Regions from separate parts of the Homo sapiens genome. Here region 2 is linked to region 1. The links are contacts of gene promoters, found by promoter capture Hi-C in human tissues and cell types (Jung and others, 2019). All regions are on one chromosome and are shown on one strand. Each heading gives the region's core, a stretch centred on a gene start or on the middle of the fragment in contact. The rest is flanking DNA. Distances are from core to core; before and after follow the strand shown.

Region 1 (6,765 bases), core at 2,423-4,922:
CACTCAGCTGGGCAGGGCAGAGCTCGGTTGGATCTCAAAGACCCACTTCTTGGCCATGCCGCCGGCCTGCCTCTGAGTGCAGCGTGGTCCCCCTCCCCTCACCCGTGGGATTCTGCTAGAACCCCGCTACCCCACTACTTTCCTCAGAAATCCACAGTCCTGAAACCTTAGCTTATTTATTCCCTAACCCTCCCCAGCACTTCCATTTGGGGTTCAGAACGATCTGCTGAGGACTGTGGCCCCAAGGGAGGAAGGGGACACCCAATATGTGGCCCAGAGCTGGGACTGGAACCCAGGTATCCTGACTCCCGGTACAGCCTCAGTGCAGGGAAGAGGGGACATTAGAAACATTTCTGAGCTCAGGTCCGTGGCAGGGCAGCCTCCTTAAGGGCAGAGTCCCAGCCTTCCCCCAGGGACTCTTCATCCATCGGGCCCTCCCTCAGTGGTGGGAGCCGTCACAAGCTGTCAGCGGGCTCCTCCGGGTGCCAGACGAGAGTCTAATCAACAGCTCCCAGCTTCTCTGGGCCTGCCCAGGCCTCAGGCTGCCCTCCCAGCTCCAGGCTCCATCCTGCCCAACAGCTGCACGCGGCGGGACACCTGGCCTCCCCACCAGGCCACCTGCCCTTCTGAGACAACAGATAGTCCTGGCTCTCGCCACTGGCCAGCAGACCCACCCTGGACTCCAGGGTATTGGGAGGCGAGCGGAACCTAGACCTTGCTCCTTGGCAGGTGCTGTCAGCTATCCTCTCGGGGCCAGGCCTCCTCATACCTCACACTTGAAAAGACACAGTGCCAGCCATCATGCCTGCATGGACACCTGCCTCCCCGAAGCTTTTCCTTCTAGAGGCAGCTTTTCAGTCGGACACCTCTGGCATTTACCAGCTGGGTGACTTGGGCAGTTACCTCTGCGATCCCCAATCTTCTCATCTGTAACGGGATTGAAACGTTGTTGGGATTTAGATCATGCTGTGGGAGTCATCATAATAATTATTATTGTCATGATCATACAGTCTTCAGACCAAGTCCCCCTCTGTGCCTGCTCGGGCTCACACTCAGCTCTTTCCTCTGACAGCCATAGAGCATGTGCCCTGTTCCACCCAGTCGTGGTTTTATCATGTCTTTCTACCTAGACTCCAGGCTTGTGGGAGGCCAGGCTGTGACATCCATTTCCCCCAGAGCTGCCATTCCTGGCCAGCTGATTGTTCGACAGAGGTTGATAAATATTGGACCAACCTTGGTATGTGCCCAGTGTCTTCTCCTTCATAGCCTCTCTGGTTTGGGAGGGTCCTGGGAAGCCTCTTGTTCCTCTTGCCTTGGGTGGAGCAGAGAGACCCTTGGCTTGAAGCCGGGGGTGGAGCAGGAGTGAGCTGGGTCATCCAGAGACCTGCTTCGTGGCAACCTGAACCATCACCGTTGCAGAGAACAGGTTTGCCAACCTCTCTTCTCCTAGGCTGCCCCTCCTCACCCCACCCCCAACAGCACAGGCAGGAGAACTGAGTTGTTGGAATTCCCCACAGTTTGCATGATCCAAAGCCGAGGCTGCCTTCCTGGCTGGGATTCTGGGGGTGGACATGGGTGAAGGTGAGTGGTGATGCCACCGGGCCATGCTGGCTCCACTTTGGGACAGCTTCAGGGAAGGGGGTATAGGGTCACTGCCTGGGAGTCAGAACACCTGGGTTCAGTTCTCAGCTCTGAGTTTGGGCAAGTAGCTTCCACTCCCTAGGCCTCAGTTTCCTCATCTGAGTCAAAGATGAGATGTTCCTGAAGGACTTTCCACTGCAGATGTCGCTGTCTTCCATGTAGGCCTGGGCCAGACGCTTGGACTGCCACTTTTTTTTCTTTGTTTTTTGTTTGTTTGTTTGTTTTTTGTGGCTTTGGCGGTGCTGGGCAGGTGAGACACAGTTCTTGCTCCTTCTGATGCTCAGATCTGTTTTGGAGGCCCCCGCTCTGAACCCATGCATTCAAGAACCAGCTCCAGGGACACCCAGGGTCCTCCAAGTCCAAATCAGCTCCCTCCCCAGCTCTGTGACCCAGGCTCCATTCAGGGGGTGGCCTGCAGGGGGGCAGTGGGAGAAGGTGGTGGTGCCTTGCTTTCTGTACACTCTGCCACTGCTCCTGAAGTGTTAATCAAATTAAGGCTCCAAGAAAAACAAAAGCTCCGCAGCCACTTCGGGCTGCCTTGGAGTCGTTTGCTCTCGGAACAGCTGGGAGAATTCCACATCACCTCCGTCCCCCAAGCCCTGGGTGGCTCTGACCCCAACGAACACACTCCTTCCAGCCTGGAGGGCTCTGGCTGGCCACAATGACCTCATAGCAACAGCCATTGGACACTCGGGGCAATTTCATGGGAGATATTTGTTCTTTGGTCTTGATGCAGAGAGAATTTTTTCCTCTCTCCCTGTCTCCATGGAAACCCCAGCTACACTGTTGGCGATCCCCCTTCCCACCCCATGCTTTTCAGATCAATATTGGAGCTTGGCTCCCCACTGGCTGCCCACAGCGGATGGTGGCAGAGCTCTGGGCAGGAGGAACTGGGGCCAGGGTTAAGCGCGGGGCATGGGGAACTGTCCCTGAGCGGGGATGAAAGGAGCGCGGGTCCGCTTGCTCCCTGTCCACCCACTCACTGGAGCTCATCCCTTTAGTCTCCCTCCCTGCAGCAAACCTTCCGCCCCTACCCAGGGAGCGCCCTGAGCGCAGATCCAGTCAAGGAGAAACAGACAGGTCACCAGCGGTTACCACCCCTTCCTCCTTAGGCTAGACACGGGGAGCTGGGGGGCCGTTGTCTTCTTTAAGGTCTGGACGGAGTTTCTTCCTGCCCCGGGGAAAAACCAAGGCCCGGCCAGCGCCAGCGCCAGCCCCGGGCCCTGGGAGACCAGGCGTCCTGGTCCCTTCCTTCTGTCTCCGGCTCCCGCCCCCCAAGCAGAAACAGGTCCCTGCACGCCTCCAGCCCAGCCCGCAGCGCGGCGCAGCTCGGCGCAGCTCGGCGCTGGGAGCTCGCTCCGGACTTCTCGGGATTAACCTGCTATTATGTCCCGGAGCCCTTCCCTGCAATGGGCTTCCTCAGCGACCTGTCAGCCCGGCTGGACTGCAACCCGCGTCCGGCGCCCCTCCCGGGCCACCGCCCCGCGCTCGCACCCCTGGCGCCCTCGAGAGCCCCGAGCCGCCTACCGGTGCGGACGCCGCCACAGCCACCCCTGACGCCTCTGGGCAGGGAGCCGGACCCGGGCAGGAGGGGACCCCGGGTGTGCAGAGGGACGTTCGGGCCGTGGCGGCGGCAGCGGAGCGAGCGAGCCTCCGGTCCCGCGGCCGAGACACCTGCCGGGCTGCCCCGCGCCCGCTGCCCCGCGCCGCCTGGCACCGGCCGCTGCCCCCGGGGCCTGCCCCGCCCCGCCCCGCCCCGCTCGGCCCCGGCCAGACTTACAGCCAGTTGCTCGCGGCGGCTGAGAAGACGGCGAAGACGAGGAGGCGCAGCGAACGCAGGCACGAGCGGGGACTCATGGTGCCGCCGCGGGCGCCCGGCCCGGGGCAGCGGCTGCGGCCGCGGGGGGCCTCCCGTCGGGGCTGCAGGTGGGCGCCCGCGGGCGGGCCGGGGCGCGCGCGGCGGGGCTCTGCCTCCGTGTGCCTGCCGGCAGCCTGCCCGCTGCTGCGCCCGCTGCCCGGCGCGGACCAGACTGTCAGCGCCGCCCCAGAGCCGGGATGCGGCGGCGGCGGCGGCGGCGGCGGCGGCGGAGGCGGGCGGGCGGGCGGGCGGCCGGGGGGGCGGGCCGGGGGCGGGCCGAGGATGGGGTTACCTGGGCGGGCCCAGCGGCCCGGGACACCCCCCCGGGGGCGGGCCGGAGCGGCGGCGGCTGCCGCCTTAGCCCGCGGGACTGGGCTGCTCCCGGGGCCTCCCCGGCTGGGCGCTCCGGAGGACTTGGGGCCCGAGCCCGCTCCAGGCACGCCTGGCTGCGCGCCGCCGAGCCCGGCCCGGCTAGAGGCGCGGCGACCCAGCTGCCCGGCCGCCGCCCGGGCCTAGGGGACAGGCGGGCACAGCTCCCCCAACCCGCCGCTGCGGGCACTGCAGCGCGGCCCTCGCTGTCCCCCTACCCCCCCCACCGCCCCCCGCCGGCGCCTGGAGCCCAGACCCCGGTCCGACCGCGGCGGACCCACCGGAGCGCGGCTACCACTCGCGCGCACCCAGGCGCTGGCGCTCCGGGTGCCTGGGGCTGCACATCGGGGCGCTGGATGTCTCCCGACCGCCCCCCGCCCGGCCCCTCCCTGCCTCCTGGCCCCCGCGTCCTGCGGCCCAGCCCCTCCCTGGCGCTCACCTCCCTACAGCCTTCCGGGAGCTGGACGGGGCCTCCCCAGCTTTGGGCAGCTTGGGACAGTGGCCCGAGACTGTGGGAATCCGAAACCTCGCTTCTGGCTAGCCACAAGGTCTGGGCGCGCCCCAGGCAGCAGGGTCTTGACTCTGAGCCTCCGTTTTCTCATCCGGGAAGTGGGCTTAAGACGCTGTGATTGGGAGGACAGGAGGAGTTTAGGGAAGCTCTCTTGGCTCACTCACCAAGTCTTACTTTGCATTTGGTTTTCTATGTGCTTGTTCGATTTATCCTCCCATACTAGGCAGATTCAGCCTCTTGTTTGTTTTGGGCACAGGGCGGTGCCTGCCATGTTTGTGGAAGGAATAAATGAATGGAATGGAATGGGCTGCAACAGCCTGTGCTTGGCTAGTCCAGAGAGCTCAATTCCACATCACTGTAACCCCTAAGAATTGTCTGCCCAAGTCCACGCCACACCCTCTCAGGTCACTGATCTGATTCTGTGTGCTACTCATCCTCCAGGCTGCATCCCCCAGCTGCTCACAGGTAGAGGGACCTCTTATCTAAACAGTAAAACTAAGGCCCGGAAAGGGAGGCACCTGTCCCACCTCCCTAGGGGTTGGGAACAGAGGCAAGGACCAGGTCTATGCCCTCACCCCCTGATCTTAGTTCTTCACTGATTTTGGAGTATGAAGTTTGCTCCCACAGAGGCCATCATGTTTGGGTGCTGGGATGGTGCCCTGGGGTCCCCTGGGCTCAGAACAGAGGAAGGGCTCAGTAAACATTTGGTATTGGGACTGGGTGGAACGTGGCAGGGATTTGTGGGGCTGGGCAAGAGTATAGATGGAGGTTCACATACCATATGTCCAAATATTTGCAGGCTATAAATCAAGCTAACAAAATGCAAAATAAATTATGTTCTATTCTTCTATCTTGACAAATACACTTTCCTAACAAGGCAGAAAGCTGGCTTTGAGTGTGGCATTCTCATACTCCTCAGACCTTGCCCTGGAGCTGGTGGCACAGGGAGAGGGGGCCCCTAGTGCCTGGCCTGGGCCCCTGCCCCCTACCTTTTCCTACCTCTGCCTCTGTCCTGTCCTTCGAGAGTCTTGTGCACATTCATGAACATCTCAGCCTGCACATGCAAGCTCAGCCCCTTGGTAGCCCCTCAGGCTTAGGGCTGGGCACGCCAGTGGTGTACTCTGTCCTCGGGCTGGATCTGCGGAAGAGACCCACGCAGGTCCTGGCAGTGGGCTAAGGGCCATCTCTGCAGGGAACCCCAGGGGCCTGGGCACCCAGAGTATGCTCTAGTGGAGGTGCCACAAGTTCCAGGTGGGCATGTCCCCTTGTCCCATGGTCTTCCCTCCTTGTGATGAGAGGTTAGCTGGAGGAGGGCCAGACTGGGGGGGTCCCCAGGGCAGGGGCCACTCTCACCTGTGTTTAAGGGTGGTACTGAAGTGCTGACCTATTTTGAACCAGCATATTCACTTCCTGGAGACTCAGTATGGTATGGTGGAAAATAATAATAACAACGATAATAATTTAGATGGCAACAGGTAATTATGTTAGGATGGCCATATAATTTTCTTCCAAACCAGGATGTTTTCAAGAGTGACGGGGGGCTCTAACTGGAAGATTTGCCAGGCTACCAGGCATAGACCAAGACTGTGCCAGGCCACCTAGGATGCACTGTGCCACTCAAATGTTGTGCCCTGGTATGTCAGGCACTGTTCTTAGTGCTTTACACGCTTTGACTCATTCAATCGTTGCAACAAATCTAGGAAGTACGTACTGTTATCACCCTCATTTTACAGATGAAGACACCAGGTTACTTGCTTAAGGAAAGTGGTGGACCTGGGACTCCAGAGCCACATCCCCGGCTCCCATACCATCCTGAGCCTGGGACTCAGGTGTTTGGGCTTAAGCCCCTGTCCCAAAGCACATGACACTTGACCTTTGGGAAGCTGCAGGACCTTCAGTTTCTGTATCCATCAGGTGGGAACAATGTTACCTGGCTTGCCTTCTCCTGGGGTGCTGGGAGATGCATATGAGTGGGTGTGTGTGAGCCCCACGAGCAGGATCAAGCTGAGCCCAGGAGGGAGAGAACTGGAGCCATCAGAAAGTGTCTCCCTGAGCTGTGCTGTGATAATGGAGAGGAGGAGCCCTTTGCTCTGAGTCAGTGGAAATTCTTTTTTTTTTTTTTTTTTTTTTTTTTGAGACGGAGTCTCCCTCTGTCGCCCAGGCTGGAGTGCAGTGGTGTGATCTCGGCTCACTGCAAGCTCCGCCTCCCGGGTTCAACTGATTCTCCTGCCTCAGCCTCCTGAGTAGCTGGGACTACAGGTGCGTGCCACCATGCCAAGCTAATTTTTGTATTTTTTTAGTAGAGACGGGGTTTCACCATGTTGGCCAGGATGGTCTCGATCTCTTGACCTCGTGATCCACCTGCCTCGGCCTCCCAAAGTGCTAG
Region 2 (6,765 bases), core at 2,105-4,604, 150 kb after region 1:
ACTCTTCCATTTGGCTGTCCTTGAGTTGTATTTTTTTTATAATAAACCAGTAGTAGTAAGTAAAGTGCTTCCTGAGTGCTGTGAGTCTTTCTAGCAAATTATAGAGAGGTGGTCATGGGAACTCCTGATTTATAGCTTGTTGGTCAGAAGTACAGGAGGCCCAGAACTTGCAATTGGTGCCTGGGTGGGAGCGGTCTTGCCAGACTGAGCCCTTAACCTGTGGGGACAGATGCTAACTCCCAGTAGTTAGTGTCAGACTTGAATGGAATCATTGGACACCTAGTTGATATCTGGAGAGTTGGAGAACTGGTTATTGTGGTATGGAAAAAACCCCGACACATTTGGTGTGAGAGGTGTTGCACTGTAAAATAGTTCAGCCCTGCCAACAACCACATGAGCTTGGAAGTGGATTCTTCCCCATTTGGTCCTTCAGATGAGACCCTGACCTTGGCTGACATCTCAATTGCAGCTTTGCACAGGACTCAGGTAAGCTATGCCCAGACTCCAGACCCACAGAAACTGTGAGATAATAAATGTGTTTAATTAAATTAAATTAATTAATTAATTAATTTTTATTTTTTTGAGACAGAGTTTCACTTTGTTGCCCAGGCTGGAGTGCAGTGGCACAATCTCGGCTCACTGCAACCTCCGCCTTTTGGGTTCAAGCGATTCTCATCCCTCAGCCTCCTGAGAAGCTGGGATTCCCGGTGCGTAACACTGCGCCTGGTTAATTTTTTGTATTTTAGTAGAGATGGGGTTTCATCATGTTGGCCAGGCTGGTCTCGAACTCCTGACTTCAAGTGATCTGCCCACCTTGGCCTCCCAAAATGCTGGGATTACAAGTGTGAGTCACCATGCCTGGCCATAAACGTGTTTTAAAAGCACTAAATTGGCTGGGCATGGTGGCTCCCACCTATAATCCCAGCACTTTGGGAGGCCAAGGCAGGCAGATCAGTGAAGGTCAAGAGGTCAAGACCATCCTGGCCAACATGGTAAAACCCCATCTCTACTAAAAATATAAAAATTAGCCACATATGGTGGTGCACACCTGTAATCCCAACTACATGGGAGGCTGAGGCATAAGAATTGCTTAAACCCGGGAGGTTGCAGTGAGCTAAGATTGTGCCACTGCACTACAGCCTGGACCACAAAGCAAGACTGTCTCAAAAACAAACAAACAAACCAAATAGAGCACTAAGTTAATGGTAATATTGTTATTCAGCAACAGAGAACTCATACATTTGAGAGTGCATTAGAGCAAAACCACAGTGGGCTGGCAGAGCTATAAACTCCTCACACCAGCCAATGTGGCATCATGGGGATACTGTTAGTGAAGTGGTTTTACTAAACAACAACAGCAGCTTACGATTATTGAATGCTTGCCACGGTCCTTGCTCTATGCCAAGCCCTTTACATGTTTTATTTCATTTAGTCTTTGACATAACCCTATGAACAACAACTATTACCCCACTTGTCACTTGGGAGGGCAAAGGGTTTTGATTTTGAGATGACCTCCTCATCAGCAAGGGACTTGGCCAACTCCCCTTTGACCTGTCTAAAGACAAACACATTTCATCACTGCAAATGCTAGCTTTTTTTGTTTAATAAACATTTTATCCTGAAAAACATTTAGAGTTACAGAAAAGTTGTAAAGATAGTACAGAGAGTTCTTGTATACCTTTCACTCCATTCCTCTTAATGTGAGCATCTTGCTTTACCATGGAACATTTCTCAAAACTAAGACATCATCGTCGGTACATTACTCTTAACTAAACTATAGATTATTCAGGTTTCACCCGTTTTTCGATGAATGCCCTTTTGCCATTCCAGGATTCAATTCAGGATCCCACGTTGCATTTAGCAAGCATGGATTTTTTCTTCCCCAGACCCAAGCCAGTCTGGTCTCACACGACGAGTGCGTGGCCCTCTGTTGCCATGTGTTGACCCTAATCCTTGCAAAAGAACAACTCTGGCATCACCGAATTAAGGGCATGTTTGCTTTTTTCCTGAGCAAGGAAAGAATGTCCCACATTGGCTAAGAATGCCTTGGTCTGAACCATTTGGGAGGTTGACTGACGTCAACCCTCCAATAATTTTGCTCTGGTACCCACATTTTTGAAATTTCTGAAACAGAGGGAGGAGATGCCAGGTCATCACTCAACACACACTGTCTCACAGTTCCGGAGGCTGGAAGTCCAAGGTCAAGGTGTCAGCATGGTCGGTTCCTTCTGAGGACTGTGAGGGAGAATCTTCCAGACTCTCTCCTAGAGAGAGAAGGAGGGTCCCCTGGAGGTCATCTAGCTCCTCTCATCCCTTCTTCCCACCAAACATTGACTGAGTATCTCAGCATCTCCGTTGTCAGTTATAGGACTCCCCTAGTCAAAAAAGACAAAAGGCACCCAAGCTGATCTAGAGGAAAAATAAAGGGAGACCTTTTAGGGGACTCAGTTCACATCAAAGTCCAAGTGAGGGAGAACTTTCCAGGCTCTGATGGTTTCCTGGCAATGTTTGGCATTTCCTGGATTGTAGAAGCACCACCCCCATCTCTGTCTTTATTTTCACATGGCATTCTCCACATGTGCATGTCTCTGTGCCCAAAATCTCCCCGATTTATAAGGACACCAGTCACATTGGATTAGCCACCCTATTCCAGGATGACCTCATCTTAACTAAGTACATCTGCAACAACCTTATTCCTAGATTAGGAAATTCTGAGGTGCTGAGGGTTAAGACTTCAACATATGAATTTGGGTGTGGTGGGGAAACACAACGGAACACATGATACTATCTGTGGTTTCTCCCTGTGGCTTGGGCTTCCCACAGCAGGTGGCTGGGCCCCTAGAGGGAGCACCCCAGGGCGGGTGTCCCGAGAAGGACAGTTGGGGCTGCAAGGCTTCTGACCTCCCCTCCGAAATCACACAGCATCATTTCTGCTGTGTTCTGTTGGTTAAAAGTGAGTCACGGAGCCTGTGCAGGTCCAGGGGAGGGGCCCCACAAGGGTGTGAATTCTGGGAGGTGTGCTGGGAGCTGGCTTTGGAACCAGTTACCCCAGGTTCACGGCAGGCTAACATCCCGAATCCCAGATTAAAGCATGTTCTGTTCCCTGAGTTTTGTCCCTCTGGTTAGCTCCCAGGGGTAGTTGCTCAATAAACTGTTGTGGCCTGGAATTTTATCGTGAAGGGATCTGTTCCATCAGCAGGAAAGTGCCAGGCCCCACTGCTTCTCCAGTGTGCTCCCTGCCTCTTTTCCTTGGGAACCCAAGGCTGGCAGGGGCCAAGTCCTAGGACCGGAAGGACCCGAAGCTGGAACACAATGGGCTGCTTTTTCCTGCCCACACACCTGGGCCTGGCACTCAGGGGGAAAATTGCCCCAGGCAGGCGGTCTTGCCAGACTTAGAAAGAAGGAGACCGAACTTGAAATGTTTTCTAAATCCTCCAAATGGAGCTTCTGCAGCACCGGCACCAGCTTCCCCCATCCCCACCCCGGGAGAGAGGAAAAGCAGGGAGAGGAAGAGAAGGAGTAGGTTTCCAGTCTGTTTATATTTCAGGCTATTTTGAAACCCCCTGAAGGCACTCACACACAGGGGCACATTTAAATGCACCAGGAAGTGCTCCCGGAATGGAAACTGGAGTCGGCGGAACTCTGGGGCACTGCACTGCCTGCTCTGTTCTGCTGTCCTTCAAACAACCAACAATTCAGCCCCTTCAATGCCCAACTCAAAGCCTCTCTCACCGGAAGGGCTTCTGGAGGTCATCTAGCTCCTCCCATACCCCCTTCTCACCAAACATTTACTGAGCTTCTCAGCATCTTCATTGTCAGTTACAGGACTCTTTGGTCCACAAGGAATAGAGGAAAGGCACCCAAGTTGATCTAGATGAAAACTAAAGGGGGATTTTTTAAGGGGCTTAATTTACATCAAAATCCAAGGAGAGTTTGGCTTCAGGTATGGTTGAATCCAGCTGTTCCAACCATATCATCAAAGATGGGTCTCTGAACATCCCTCAGCTCTGCTCCCTCCATGGTAGCCTCATTCTCAGTATTATAAGGAGGCAAGGTGCCTGCCAGCAGCCCCAGACCCTTATCAAGTCCCTCAGAAGACCTTGGGATGTGAGTTCCCATTGGCCAGGATTAGTCACATGCACTGCTATCCTTACCAGCTGGGAGTGGAGTCAACTCCACCCGAAGCTCAGAGGTCCCTCTCCCACCCAACCCTTATACCCAGACACCAGGCAGCAAGAAAACATGGTACCCATGCTCTCTGCTTATACCCCTCTAGTGATGGAGGACTCTTCAGCCTAGGGGCATCCCTGTCCTCTGATAATTTTATTCAGATTTCTATAATATTTCTTACCATACTTCAGTGCAATTTATTTGTTTGCCTATACCCCTTATTGTACTCCTTGGTTTCTGTGTCTTCAGCACAAGGCCCCCACAGAACAGGTGCTCAACAGACGTTTATCAAATGAAGGATTAATATCTTCCATTACTAAGCACATATGCTGTGCCAGGTGTTTGATGCATATTATCTCATTTGATCCTCGTGACCACTCTCTTAGCTAAAGAGCATCGTCCTGTTTTTATATGTGAAGAAACAGGTTCAGACAGGTTAAGAAGTCACCTTACCAAGGTCATCCAAGAAGAAGGCAGTGGAGCCAGGATTTAAGCCCAGATATTTTTGACTTTAACTTGATATGGAGGTGGGAGAAGCTGGGAAAGAAGGGAAGAGGACAGGAAAGAAGAAGAAGAGCCGAGAGGGTAGTGGAGGAAAAGAGAGGACAGAGGAAGAGGAATGGGAGGAAGCTTTGAATGTTAAAATTTCTTCCTCTGATGGCTATTATTATTATTTTTTTAAAGACACCGTCTTGTTATATTTCCCAGGTTGGATTAGAACTCTTGCTCAAACTCCTGAAGTTTGAGTGGTCCTTCTGCCTTCTGCCACAGCTACTGAGCTGGGAACACAGGTGCACACCACTGCGCCCAGCTGGATGGTTGTTCTTTCTTTCTTTATTTTTTTTTGAGATGGAGTCTTACTCTGTTCACCCAGACTGGAGTGCACTGGCCCGATCTCGGCTCTCTGCAACCTCCACCTCCTGGGTTCAAGTGATTCTCCTGCCTCAGCCAAACCAGTAGCTGGGATTACAGGTACATGTCACCACACCCGGCTAATTTTTTTTTTTTTTTTTAAGTAGAGATGTAGTTTTACCATGTTGGCCAGGCTGGTCTCAAACTCCTGGCCTCAGGTAATCCACTCGCCTTGGCCTCCCAAAGTGCTGGGATTATAAGTGTGAGTCACTGCGCTCGGCCTGGATGGTTATTCTTAATTTGCTTTTTGGTCACTGACTCCTTAAAGAATCTGATCCAAGTTAGCACATTTTGGTGTGGCAATGCACCAAAGTACCGCATGCATGAGACTATTAAATTGAAGTAAATGTCATCCATATACTGACATAGCACATTAAGAGTATTAAGTTCAGTAAATGAAGAAAAAAGATGATATAATTTTATTTGGGGTACAGTTTGAAAATAATTTCAGCTTGGGAATTTCGTGGTGGGGTAAACTGCTTATCTTTTCAGTACTGTTTTTGTTTAAAAGCCTCAAATCATTTTGTGCAACACTTGCAGAGAATTAAAAAAAAAAAAGACTCAAATCTCTGGGTCACCAGAGTCCCTCATTTTAATAAATGATTTTCTGTTATGCTTGATAATGGCATTAATAGAATAAGAAGGGAGAAATAGAAGACCAAAACTGGTGACCAAGGATTACACCTGGCTGGTCTACAGTGTCCCCAGTTCATGTCATTATCATTGGATTTGCTTTTTAAATTCAGAATAGGTGTTGGGTTGGAGGGTGGGCTCTTTGTCTTCATTGCTGTGATGTTTGGAAAATAAAACAACTGTGGAAAATAGGATGGAGGCCAACAACCTCCTAGTACCAAAACCTGGCAGAGATACAACAGGAAAAGAAAACTTCAGGCCAATATCTGTGATGAACATCAGTGCAAAAATCCTCACCAAAATACTGGCAAACTGAATCCCACAGCACATCAAAAAGCTCATCAACCACGATCAAGTAGGTTTTATCCCTGGGATGCAAGGTTGGTTCAACATATGCCAATCAATAAATGTGATTCCTTACATAAACAGAGCTAAAGACAAAACCACATGATAATCTCAGTAGATGCAGAAAAGGCTTTTGATCAAATTCAACATCCATTCATGTTAAAAACTCTCAATAAACTAAGTATTAAAGAAACATACCTCAAAATAATAAGAGCCATATATGATAATTCCACAGCCAACATCATAATGAATGGGCAAAAGCTGGAAGCATTTCCCTTGAAAACTGGCACAGAACAAAGATGCCCTCTCTCACCACTCCTATTCAACATGGTATTGGAAGTCCTGGCCAGGGCAATCAGGCAAGAGAAAGAAAGGGCATCAACACCACTGAAAGAAATAGATAGGAAGAGAGAAAGTCAAACTATCCTTGTTTGCAGATGACATGATCCTATAGCTTGGAAAATCCCACAGTCTCAGTCCAAAAGCTTCTTAAGGTGATAAACAATTTCAGGAAAGCATCAGGATACAAAATCAATGTGCAAAAATCACTAGCATTCCTATACAGCAACAACAGTCAAGCAGAGAGCCAAATCAGGAATGCAATCCCATTCACAATTGCCACACACACACACAAAATAATAAAATACCTAGGAATACAGCTAACTAGGGAGGTGAAAGATCTCAACAAGGAGAACTACAAAACTC

What was found. The method cuts DNA at HindIII sites, captures the fragments that hold promoters and counts their contacts. A contact is called where the count stands out against the background at its distance.
Region 2: a fragment that was not itself captured here is called in contact with the fragment with the promoter of WNT4 in region 1 in 1 of the 25 tissues and cell types used here (IMR-90 fibroblasts).

Annotation. Positions count from the first base shown.
Region 1 is chr1:22,139,425-22,146,189 of GRCh38, forward strand. WNT4 (Wnt family member 4) reads right to left here and starts at 3,673. Exons shown (of 5, transcript NM_030761.5): 1 at 3,422-3,673. The coding sequence starts at 3,498. LOC105376845 (a long non-coding RNA gene) reads left to right here and starts at 1,529. Exons shown (of 5, transcript XR_947050.1): 1 at 1,529-1,581. RefSeq lists an enhancer at 1-87 and silencers at 3,141-3,200, 3,763-4,092. The HindIII fragment of the contact is 15,863 bases long and covers 1-6,765 here.
Region 2 is chr1:22,294,082-22,300,846 of GRCh38, forward strand. No RefSeq gene overlaps it. Among named protein-coding and RNA genes, the nearest start is that of MIR4418, 31 kb to the left of the region's middle. RefSeq lists an enhancer at 3,211-3,710. The HindIII fragment of the contact is 4,636 bases long and covers 1,037-5,672 here.